3 separate regions of the Homo sapiens genome follow, and all the other regions are linked to region 1. The links are contacts of gene promoters, found by promoter capture Hi-C in blood cells and fetal thymus (Javierre and others, 2016). All regions are on one chromosome and are shown on one strand. Each heading gives the region's core, a stretch centred on a gene start or on the middle of the fragment in contact. The rest is flanking DNA. Distances are from core to core; before and after follow the strand shown. Region 1 holds the start of JPH1 (junctophilin 1). Region 2 has its middle 68 kb from the start of LY96. Region 3 overlaps ELOC (elongin C).

Evidence for each region. The method cuts DNA at HindIII sites, captures the fragments that hold promoters and counts their contacts. A CHiCAGO score of 5 or more calls a contact.
Region 2: a contact is called between a fragment that was not itself captured here and the fragment with the promoter of JPH1 in region 1, in 1 of 17 cell types (fetal thymus). The highest score is 5.6, in fetal thymus.
Region 3: a contact is called between a fragment that was not itself captured here and the fragment with the promoter of JPH1 in region 1, in 1 of 17 cell types (fetal thymus). The highest score is 5.4, in fetal thymus.

What each region holds. Positions count from the first base shown.
Region 1 is chr8:74,319,409-74,323,151 of GRCh38, reverse strand. It overlaps JPH1 (junctophilin 1), which reads left to right and starts at 1,612. Exons shown (of 6, transcript NM_020647.4): 1 at 1,612-2,243. The coding sequence starts at 1,865. RefSeq lists a silencer at 1,462-1,561 and an enhancer at 1,655-2,545. The HindIII fragment of the contact is 5,373 bases long and covers 1-3,485 here.
Region 2 is chr8:74,057,308-74,060,712 of GRCh38, reverse strand. It overlaps a transcript of LY96 not described here. Among named protein-coding and RNA genes, the nearest start is that of LY96, 68 kb to the right of the region's middle. The HindIII fragment of the contact is 7,541 bases long and covers 1-3,405 here.
Region 3 is chr8:73,961,676-73,964,961 of GRCh38, reverse strand. The region is part of intron 1 of ELOC (elongin C); the gene reads left to right. Among named protein-coding and RNA genes, the nearest start is that of ELOC, 8.9 kb to the left of the region's middle. The HindIII fragment of the contact is 886 bases long and covers 1,473-2,358 here.

The DNA of each region.
Region 1 (3,743 bases), core at 363-2,862:
ATTCTCTTTGGTGATTTGGTTCTGCATAAACTGAGATTTTTCTTTCAGTCTTTCAGCCAGATAAGTAGGAAAGGTCGGCTCTCGTCCTGAGAGAGAGGCAATCAAGGTCAATTTCAGTTCCTTTTCTGTGCAGTTTAGTCTACTTTTTCCCAGGCTGTCTTCCTGACACCTGTCCTTATATCTATATCTGATTATCAAATACTTAGTGAGAGAACCTTTGGCAGCTTCTGATGCTCGCATAGTCACCCAAAGGCCTCTCAGCCTAAGAAATAGCAGGAATACACTCCAAATCAGTTTCCTTGAGAGGCCAAACTAAGACCCTAGGCTGTGAAAGTGGGAGAAGTTTCTCCCGTGGGTATTTTGAGGGTGAGGTGGAGAATAATGCTTTCTCTCACCAGAGGCAATGCTGATCCAACTTGCCTATTACCAAATCTCTAATTTTTGGTTTGGCACTGCAGCCACAATATACTCAGTTATTACCGAATATAGAAAGAGAAAGGCAAATCTTGTTAGTCCCATTCAGAAGATGGTGAAATGGAGGTTTAAAAGTTTAGAAGAGTTGCCTAAAGTGAATTCGACAAAGCAGTGTTGTAGCTAGAAAGTAGACCAGCTGACATCTGTCCCTGGTTTTGTAGGTCACAGTTTCTTTGCAAGTTTAGAGCAGTGCTTTACTTACCATATTCCTCCTTGCAAACCTCTATTTACTTTCTTAAACAGTGGATACCAGTGGAGAGGTGTGCATTCCAGACACTTATACAATGTACACAGACCGAGCCGTCTACCTGTTGGGCACACAGCTCCAGGCTCAAGAATCTCTAAGGCTGTTAAGAAGCACAAACGAGGCACGAGAGGGGGCAGGCTCTAATGTAAAAGGAATATCCTGTACCACTGCAAAGGCCGATTGAAAACATCCTCTTCATCACTATTAATAAAAAACTAACCAATATATTCTGTGCTTTTTCAAACTGTACTGCTCACCCTCAGTGTCTTCATTAAATAAATGCAAACACGTGTGCTTTGAAACGGGTAGGTGTAAAAGAACACTCTGCACAATTATATCTAGGCTGCCGCAGATTTACATCACATGCATACATATATCTAGGCGATATTAATTCACGATGACAGCTGAGCATGACAAATGCAACAGTACACAAGTTGGAATGCGAAAACAATGCAACTACAAACCCCATGCAGACAAACACGCATACAATGAGTTTTCCCTCAACACACACGTGGCCGCACTCACAGGAGCTTAACCACTTTGAAAAACCCCAAACACAAACACCGGGGGCTCCGGCGCCCGCGAGCGGCCCCCACACAGGCAGCCGCGCCTTCATCTCCAGGCAGGGATTCTCGTGCGTCCCCGGGTACACTCGCCCTCCCACCGGCATCCCACTGCGCGAACACATGCGCGCCAGCCGGTCCCCGCGCGCGCCCGCCTGCCGAGGAAGCGGCGGCTCCCGGGGCTGGGGGCAGGGCCCGGTGGGGCGGGAGCGCCGCGGGGCCGGGCCTCGGCGCCCGGGGAGGGGACGAGGGGCGGGCGCGGGGCGGTGCCCGGCTCACGTGGGCGGGCGGGAGCAGCTGAAGGTCCGCTCGGGAACCTGGGCTGTCCTCTCGCGCGCGGCGCTGGCCCAGGCGGCGGCGGCGAAGGAGGAGGAGGAGGAGGAGGAAGGCGGCGGTGGCGGCGGCAAAAGAGGAGGGAGGACGGGGGCGGCGTCGGACTGGAGCCGAGCGGCAGCGCGAGCTGCCCAGGGCGCTGTCGTGAGCTCGCCCGCCGGGCCCCCACCCCCGAGCTACACCCTGCCGTGCCCAGCACTGCCCGCGTCCGTGCCCCTGCGGGGAGCGCGCCGGGGCTGCCCCCCGAATGACGGGCGGAAGGTTCGACTTCGACGATGGCGGCACCTACTGCGGCGGCTGGGAGGAGGGCAAGGCGCACGGGCATGGCATCTGCACGGGGCCCAAGGGCCAGGGCGAGTACTCGGGCTCCTGGTCGCACGGCTTCGAGGTGGTCGGAGGCTACACCTGGCCCAGCGGCAACACCTACCAGGGCTACTGGGCGCAGGGCAAGCGGCACGGGCTGGGGGTGGAGACGAAGGGCAAGTGGATGTACCGGGGGGAGTGGTCACATGGTTTCAAGGGGCGCTACGGGGTCCGGCAGAGCCTGTGCACCCCCGCTCGCTACGAGGGTACCTGGAGTAACGGGCTGCAAGACGGGTACGGCGTGGAGACCTACGGGGACGGAGGTGAGCGGCGTAACGGGCGGCTCGGCTGCTCCGCGAGCTGGTGCGGTGGGCTCTGCCCCGGCTGCGGGGAAGCGGGGAGGACGCCGGGCGCACGTGTCCGGAAACCCGCCAAAACACCTGGGGGCGCCTCCCACCCCCGCGCCCGCGCCCGCCTTTCCCAGAGAGGGCGCTGGGACCGGACTGGGGCGCGAGGGCTGGATCTGACCCCGTTCTTGGAGCGGGCCGTGTATCCACACTCAGGGGAGCTAGGCGTGAATGTACCTGGCCGGCGCCAGCGCTGCGCTGCCACCGGGAGGGAGCGCCGCCCGGGAGGGTTGGGCTGGAGAGAGGACGCTGTCACTTGAGCCCGTCACATTACGTTCCTGATCCCTCCCTCTCCCGGCCGGGTTTGAAATCGCCACTCCCGTGGAGTTAGAGCGAACACCCTGAGCGGGTGAGGTTGGCGGTCCGTGCTGACCGCTCCCGGGATTGGTTTCACGTGGAGTCGTATTTCGCTTCTGGTCCTCCAGTAGCCTAAAGATAGAAGCCAGAACCCCGTAACTAGGATGTTGGGGAATTGTACCTTATTTGGGGGTGCATTTGGAAACGTCCTAGTTATGGGAGCAGAAAGGCCACCTGATGCAGGTGGAGTTCAGAGTGTGTGAGTTCCTAGTTTTCATTCCGTTTCTTAAAGTATTGGTCTTAAAAGAGTAGCAGTCTTTGCTGACCTGGAGATCTTGGACAAATTACTAGGAAGATATTTTAGAAATGGGTAATGAAGTCTACATTTTAAAGAATACAATTAGCAGGTGTGTTCCTATAGCTGCTAAGTTAGCAGCTACTACTCCTGAGAATGGCAATACTGAAACAATAATTTGCATTATGTGTGACCTAAGCCAGTATTCCTGGCTGTGAACAAAGATCACCTTATTTTAATATTTAACAATATTTGCCAAAGAGATTGTGTATATACCAGGACAGAAGTTCCTCTTTTATTAGGAAAAGTATACATTATTGAAACAGGTGTCAAAACCTGATGAATTTCCTTGTGTAATACGCTGAGAAAGATATTCATGAATAGCTTATGCTTTAGCAAAGTGCATTTCCTGATAAACATAATCATATTTAGTTGAAAAGGGTTGTAGGAGGCGACATCACTTTTTGGAATTAAGCAGCTCAGAGTTGGAGGATATTAAAGGGATGCAATTAAAAGTTTCTCCAGCCCACTGCAACCCCATTTATACCATTGCTTATATAAAAGCTTACACAATTTGTACACTTCACTTAGTCAGAACACTTGGGCCGTGTTTCAAATGCAAAATGGCAGAATGGTAGAACTTGCTAAAAAGGACATCTTTTCATCCTACAGTATAAATTAAGCATATGGTTCTCATGGATTAAAAGAAAAAAACGTTCTCTAATAGTTTTATGTGGGGCTGAGTCCCGAGTTTCACAGTAGTTAATTGGGACCCTTAAATGTTCTGAATGGGCATAAAGTACCTGGTTGACAGCGCTGTAAAT
Region 2 (3,405 bases), core at 289-2,788, 260 kb after region 1:
GAATTTGGTTGTGAGTTCCAACATCCACCCTCTAGATTTGCACAGCAAAGAGAGGGCTATGCCTGTGCAGTACGCAAGGGTCAAGGAGGGACTCAGGTTTATTCATTTACTCCATCAGTCTTTCGACATATATTTATCGAACACCTATTATGTGCAAGAAGCTGAGACTCAAAAGTGGAGAGAAAAAACACCTCAGATTTGTTTCCTCCTCTCTAGGAGTTCACTGTCTAGGTGTTCAACAAGGAAAAATGATTTAAGAGTGAAAAGTATTGTGATATAATTACCCCGACTGAAAGTCAGGGTTCCGATAGGTAGTGAATTTTAAGCCAAGACCTGAAGGCTAAGAATGGCCTATTGCCTATCCCATTAGATTTTTTTAACTTTGCTAATTGATTTATAAAATTTTAAGAAAACATTTTCTGGATATCAATTGTTTGTTATAACTGAAAACACCTCTCAGACAGACACTTAACTTTTATCTTTGTTAATGGTATTTTTTTCTTTTGACAATAAGAGTTGGAAGTTTTTCGTTGTCGTCGTCGTCGTCGTCGTCGTTGTTGTTGTTTGAAACAAGGTCTGGCTCTCCCTCCCAGGGTAGAGTGCAGTGGCATGATCCTGGCTCACTGCAACCTCTGCCTCCTGGGCTCACCTCAGCCCCCTGGGCTCTCACCTCAGCCCCCTGAGTAGCTGGGACCACTCGTGCACACCACCACGCACAGCTAATTTTTGTATTTTTAGTAGAGACAAGGTTTCACCACGTTGCCCAGGCTGGTCTCAAATTCCTGAGCTCAAGTGCTACCACCTACCTCAGCCTCCCAAAGTGCTGGGATTACAGGCCTGAGCCACTGCGCCCAAGCAAAGTTTGAAGTTTTGGATGTAACAAAATTTATCTCTTTTTTTATTTCATACTTTTGTTGTTTGTGTCTTGTTTGCCTAATATTTTGCCCTGAGATCATAAAGCTGTTCTCCTAATAGTTTTAAGTAGATTTTCTTATAATAGTTTTGAAGTTTTGCTTTTCACATTTAGACCTGTAATCCATTTGAAATTTAACTTTTTTGGAAATTTAACTACTCAAAAATGTGAATTAGACATTTCATTTTATTTTTTTTCCATAAGGAAGGTGAATTTTGGCAATGCCATTTATTGAATTTACCCTTTTCCAACGGGTATATGGAAAGTCCCTATAAATATAATCTGTTCCCAGATCTAATTATCTATTCTGTGTCAGTAGTACAGTTTTATTTATACAACTTTTTAAAAATGTCTTTATATCTGATAGAGAAATCCCCACCTCCTGCTTCTTTTTTAGAATGTCTTGGCTAGAAGTTCTTAGAATCTGTTTGTTAAGTTCCACACAATAATGTTGGGATTTTTATTAGAACTGCATTAAATTCATAATTTAATTTATGGAGAATTCACATCTTTCTATCAAGCATTTGCTTCCATAAATATGTTAGATTTCTTCATTTCTTCAGCTGTTCTTTCGTGTCCTTTGTGATAGTTAATTTTATGTACCAATTTGCCTGGGCCACAGTATGCTCAGATATCTGATTAAACACTATTGCTGGGTGTGTCTATGAGGGTGTTTCCAGAAGAGGTTAGTACTCGAATTGGTGGACTGAGTAAAGATGATGGCCTTCCCCAATGTGGGTGGACATCATTCAATCCGTGGAAGGCCTAAATAGAACAAGAAGGTGGAGGAAGTTTGGATTATCCTCTCTCTGCTTGACTGCTTGAGCTGAAACATCAATTCCTGCCCTTGGCACTCCTGGTTCTCAGGCCTTGAACTACGTCACTGGCTTTTCCTAGGTCTCCAGCTTGCAGACAGCAAACTGTGGGACTTCTCATTCCGTATAATTGCATGAGCCAATATCTTATAATAAATCTCTTTCAGCCGGGCACAGTAGCTCATGCCTGTAATCCCAGGACTTTGGGAAGCTGAGGCGGGTGGATCTCCTGAGGTCAGGAGTTCAAGACCAGCCTGGCCAACATGATGAAACCCCATCTCTACTTAAAATACAAGAATTAGCCCAGCGTCATGGCACATGCCTTTAATCCCAGCTACTCTGGAGGCTGAGGCAGGAGAATCGCTAGAAACCAGGAGGTGGAGGTTGCAGTGAGCCGAGATTGCGCCACTGCCTTCCAGCTTGGGTGACAAAGCAAGACTCCATCCAAAAAAAAAAAAAAAGAAAAACTTTCTAGATAGATAGATAGGTGTAGATATGTAAGTATCCTTTTGCTTCTGTTTCTCTGGAGAACCCTGACTAATACATTCTCTAGTAAACTTAAATTTTTCTCCATAAAGGTTTTGCAGTGGATGATATTTTCAAAAGCTAAAGTTCATGAGTAGCAGAAAGTTTAGGTTTAAGGTAGAAATTAAAGTTATAATCCAGAAGTTTCCTCTGGATCAGCTTAATATAATTAAAACTATCATGAAGAAAATAAAATGGAAATGCATTTTAATAGACCACTCTGGAAGATAATGGGAATGTGTTCAGCATAATCTGTGTTGTAATATTTTAGTTTTTTTTTTTCACCCTTACAAGAAATCAAAAGAAAGTCTGTCCTAGTGTTTCTTGGAGCATCTATCTAATATGCTAGAGTCATAGGAGTCTCCCAGGCATATTTGTTCAAGCCTAGACCTGGAGAAGTATCCTCTTCAAACAGGACTACTAGCTGCCCTTAGGCTCACGAAGTATTGAAGGCCTAAGAAGGTAATCACGGCAGGCTGGATCCCAGAAAGTGAATGCATGCTTTCACCTCTAGCTGGAACCCTTTTCTACTCCACAGATGTTCACTGCCCTTTTCTATCCCTTCTATTCCGCATTTTTATACTGAAGCATAACTTATGCTAACACCTCATCCCCTGGATTACTTTAACAGAGAATAAAACGTAAGGTAAGGAAATTAAGCTGTTAGAGTAAAATTGCAGGTGTGAGCCTGGCTACCAAGTCGCCATTTTAGTGAGTTCAGACCACTCAAATTAAAACTGATACATATCAATGACCTAAAGGAAGCCTTAGCAGGATGAGAGAAACCTAAGTGGGAGTGTGAAGATATGCCCCAACAATCATGATTTCTGTGTGGCAGGGGACAGTGAAATTGGGCCTATTCCAGAGTTCCTCAGAAATGTGAGTCACCTACATGAGACATGGCTGTGTTTGAAGAGCCTCTGAGAGCTGTCTTAGAATAAGGGAGTCAGCATATTCTTTTTCTAAAAGTGAGAAAAGAATCAAATTTAAATGACCTTCCAGTTACCTTCTGAGGATGATCCAATACAAGTTAAGGTAACATTTATAAGAACATCATGATATTTTCTAAACTTTGTAATCCCTGTATGTTTGCCATTTGTGTTACGGTATCATAATCCCCAGAGTAATCAACAGTAAAATCCCCAAAGTTTT
Region 3 (3,286 bases), core at 666-3,165, 360 kb after region 1:
TACCCTCCTCGGGCTCAGGTGATTCTCCCATCTCAGCCTCCCAAATACCTTGGGCTACAGGTATGCACCACCATGCCCAGCTAATTTTTCTATTTTTTATAGAAACGGGGTTTCACCACCATGTTGTCCAGGCTGGTCTCAAACTCCTGGGTTCAAACAGTCAGCTTGCCTTGGCCTCCCAAAGTGCTGAGATTATACGTGTGAGCCACGGTGCCCAGCTATGGTATTTGATGAACAGAAGTTTTGTTTTGGAGAAATGCAGTTCATCAAGTTTTTCATTTACAATTTGTGCTTTTTGCATCTTTTCTGAGATTTTTGTTTTGTTTTTTGAGACAGAGTCTTGCTGTGTGGCCCAGGCTGGAGTGCCCGGCTGGTCTCAAATTCCTGACCTCAAGTGATCTCCCTCCCAAAGTGTTGCGATTGCAGGTGTGAGCCACTGCACCTGGCTGCTGAGAAATCTTTGCCTACAGTGAGGGTATGAAAATAATTTGTTTTCTTCTAGTAGCCTTATTTTGCATTTTAAGTTGAATTCTGTGAACCATCTGAAATTGATTTTTGTGTATGGTTTAACAGTGAGCTTCTTATCCATATGGATATTGTTCCAGCTTCCTTTGTTGAAGAGACTGTCCTTTCTCACCATACGCTTTGACCTTTGACTCACTTTTCCATATAAGGATTCAGGAAATCTGTGCTTATCTTTTTTTTTTTTTTTTTTGGCCATTTATAAGTTGATATGAAACAACTGTAGCCCACCAAAATATAAACTACAGAGAACCATCATTCACTATCCAGGGACCACTTAACATACTGTGATTACCTGTTGCAATCCACACTACTATATGTAATACTTTTTTTTTTTTTTTTTTTTGAGACGGAATTTCACTCTTATCGCCCAGGCTGGAGTGCAGTGGCGCAGTCTTGGCTCACTGCAACCTCCGCCTCCTGGGTTCAAGCCATTCTCCTGCCTCAGCCTCCCGAGTAGCTGGGATTACAGGCACCCACTACTACACCCAGCTAATTATTGTATTTTTCGTGGAGACGGGGTTTCACCATGTTGGTCAGGCTAGTCTCGAACTCCTGACCTCAGGTGATCCACCCCCTTCGGCCTCCCAAAGTGCTGGGATTATAGGCGTGAGCCATCACACCCAGCCCCATCAAGCATTTTTATACCTGTCTAAGCTAGTTGTATTCTTTTTTCTGCTATTTTTCCAGAGTTCATGGATTTTTATGGATATTTTACATTTGGCTCTTTAATCTGTAGTGTATTTTTGTGAGTGATCTGTTCTAACCTTATTTTATCCAAGTAAATAGCCAATGTAAAAAGACAAAAAGATATGAAGAACAGATTTTGCAGCAGTGTCTGTTATCTACTTAGGTAATTCAAGTAAGTCAACTGAAAAACTATTAAAACTTATATGAGTTCTGCAAAAAAAATGACGGGATGCAAAATCAACTTAGGACATTTTAAAGCTTTTAACAACACGAGCAATAGCCTTTCAGAAAATATCATAGTAAAACAGACCCCATTCATAATGGAAACTTAAAAGTACCTAAAAGTAGACCTAACAAGAAACATGTGAGAACAAAATGGAGACTTACCCAACTATTCCTGTACAGAATATAGTCTAGAATTTCATGTAGCAATATAGAATATGATAAAGGTAATATTTCAAATCAAAGGATAAGCTATTCAAATATCTTATAAATATTCACTGATACTAGATTCAACACTTAATTTCAGTGTAGGCCCTAGGCTCACCTAGATTTTTTAAGTATTTGTTATTAAACACAAACATACACAAAAAAACTTTAAGAGATTAATATTTATATGTAACACCTTAAAAGCATAATGACGTCTCAGGCCATTGTTCATGCTCTTTCTTCTGCCTAGAACTATTCTCAATCCAGCGGTTCCCCTACGAGTGGCTTTTACCTGCCCAATTCATATTTCCAGAATTCAGCTCTGTGATGGAATACATGTTCAAGCTGAAATTTTTGTCTCCTCAAACTTATATTTCTTTAGATAACTTATGGATTGGGTCCAAACTGAATCATATTTTAAATATTTCTAACTTCTACCTAAGAATTAGGAATTTTAACTCTTAATGTTGATTTTCCCTTTCAAAGGTGGGAGAAAGGGTGGGTCTCCTCTTCTCTCCTTAATCTCTGTTGTATAAAATGATGGAATTGATTTACTACATTAACTCTGTAGAGAAACTGTTGCTACCCAAAGGGCTCCTAAGATGTGACTTTGCATTGTTGCTTAGCTACTGCTAGTTAGATAAACATCCTAAATGTTTTATTCTAGGGATTTTCCAGATAAAAGAGTTGGCCCTTGAAATTCTTGTACTTCAAGCTTTCTCGCATTTGTTTTGTTTTTTTTTTTGTTTTGTTTTTTAAAAGAGTATTTACAAAGCAGTATAATGAAAAGAAAATAATAATGGCTCTCATGAATTTTTAAATTGCGTAGTATCATAAAATGACAGTACTATTTTTAAATTTTAGAGAACTATTTGAGGATTTACATCAGTAGCTGTTGGGAATTGTGGCAATTAAGTTTAACTGGAGCCAGAATTTTTTACTGTGGTAGTAGGCAATAATGGAAGGAGTGGAATGTGGGCTGTGAAGTCAGACCTACCTAGGTTTAAATCCTAACGCTGCCACTTAAGCTGTAGAAGCCTTCAACAAGTAGCAGACTCTTCCAGTGTTTCTCATCTCTAAAATCAGAATAATTCCCTTGTGGAAGAGTTGTTTTTAAATAAGATAGGCCAGGCACAGTGGCTCACACCTGTACTCCCAGCACTTTGGGAGGCTGAGTTGGGTGGATCACTTGAGGTCAGGAGCTCAAGACCAGCCTGGCCAACATGGTGAAACCCCGTCTCTACTGAAAATACAAAAATTAGCTGGACATGGTCCCATGCACCTGTAGTCCCAGCTACTCGGGAGGCTGAGGCACAAGAATCGTTTGAACCTGGAAGGCAGAGGTTGCAGTGAGCCAAGATCACGCCACTGCACTCCAGCCTGGGCCAAAGAGTGAGACTCTGTCTCAAAAAATAAATAAACAAGATAATGTATGTAAGGCATTTAGTACAGTGTTTACCGCTTCTTAGGCCTGCAAAAGGCTCATCAGATTTAATTGTTAGTGCTGCCTATTTTCTCTGCTTTATCTCAAATTAGAAATGGTACTTTGGGAGGCTGAGGCAAGTGGATCACCTGAGGTCAGGAGTTCGAGACCAGCCTGGCCAACATGGCGAAACCTGGTCTCTACTAAAATACAAAAATTAGC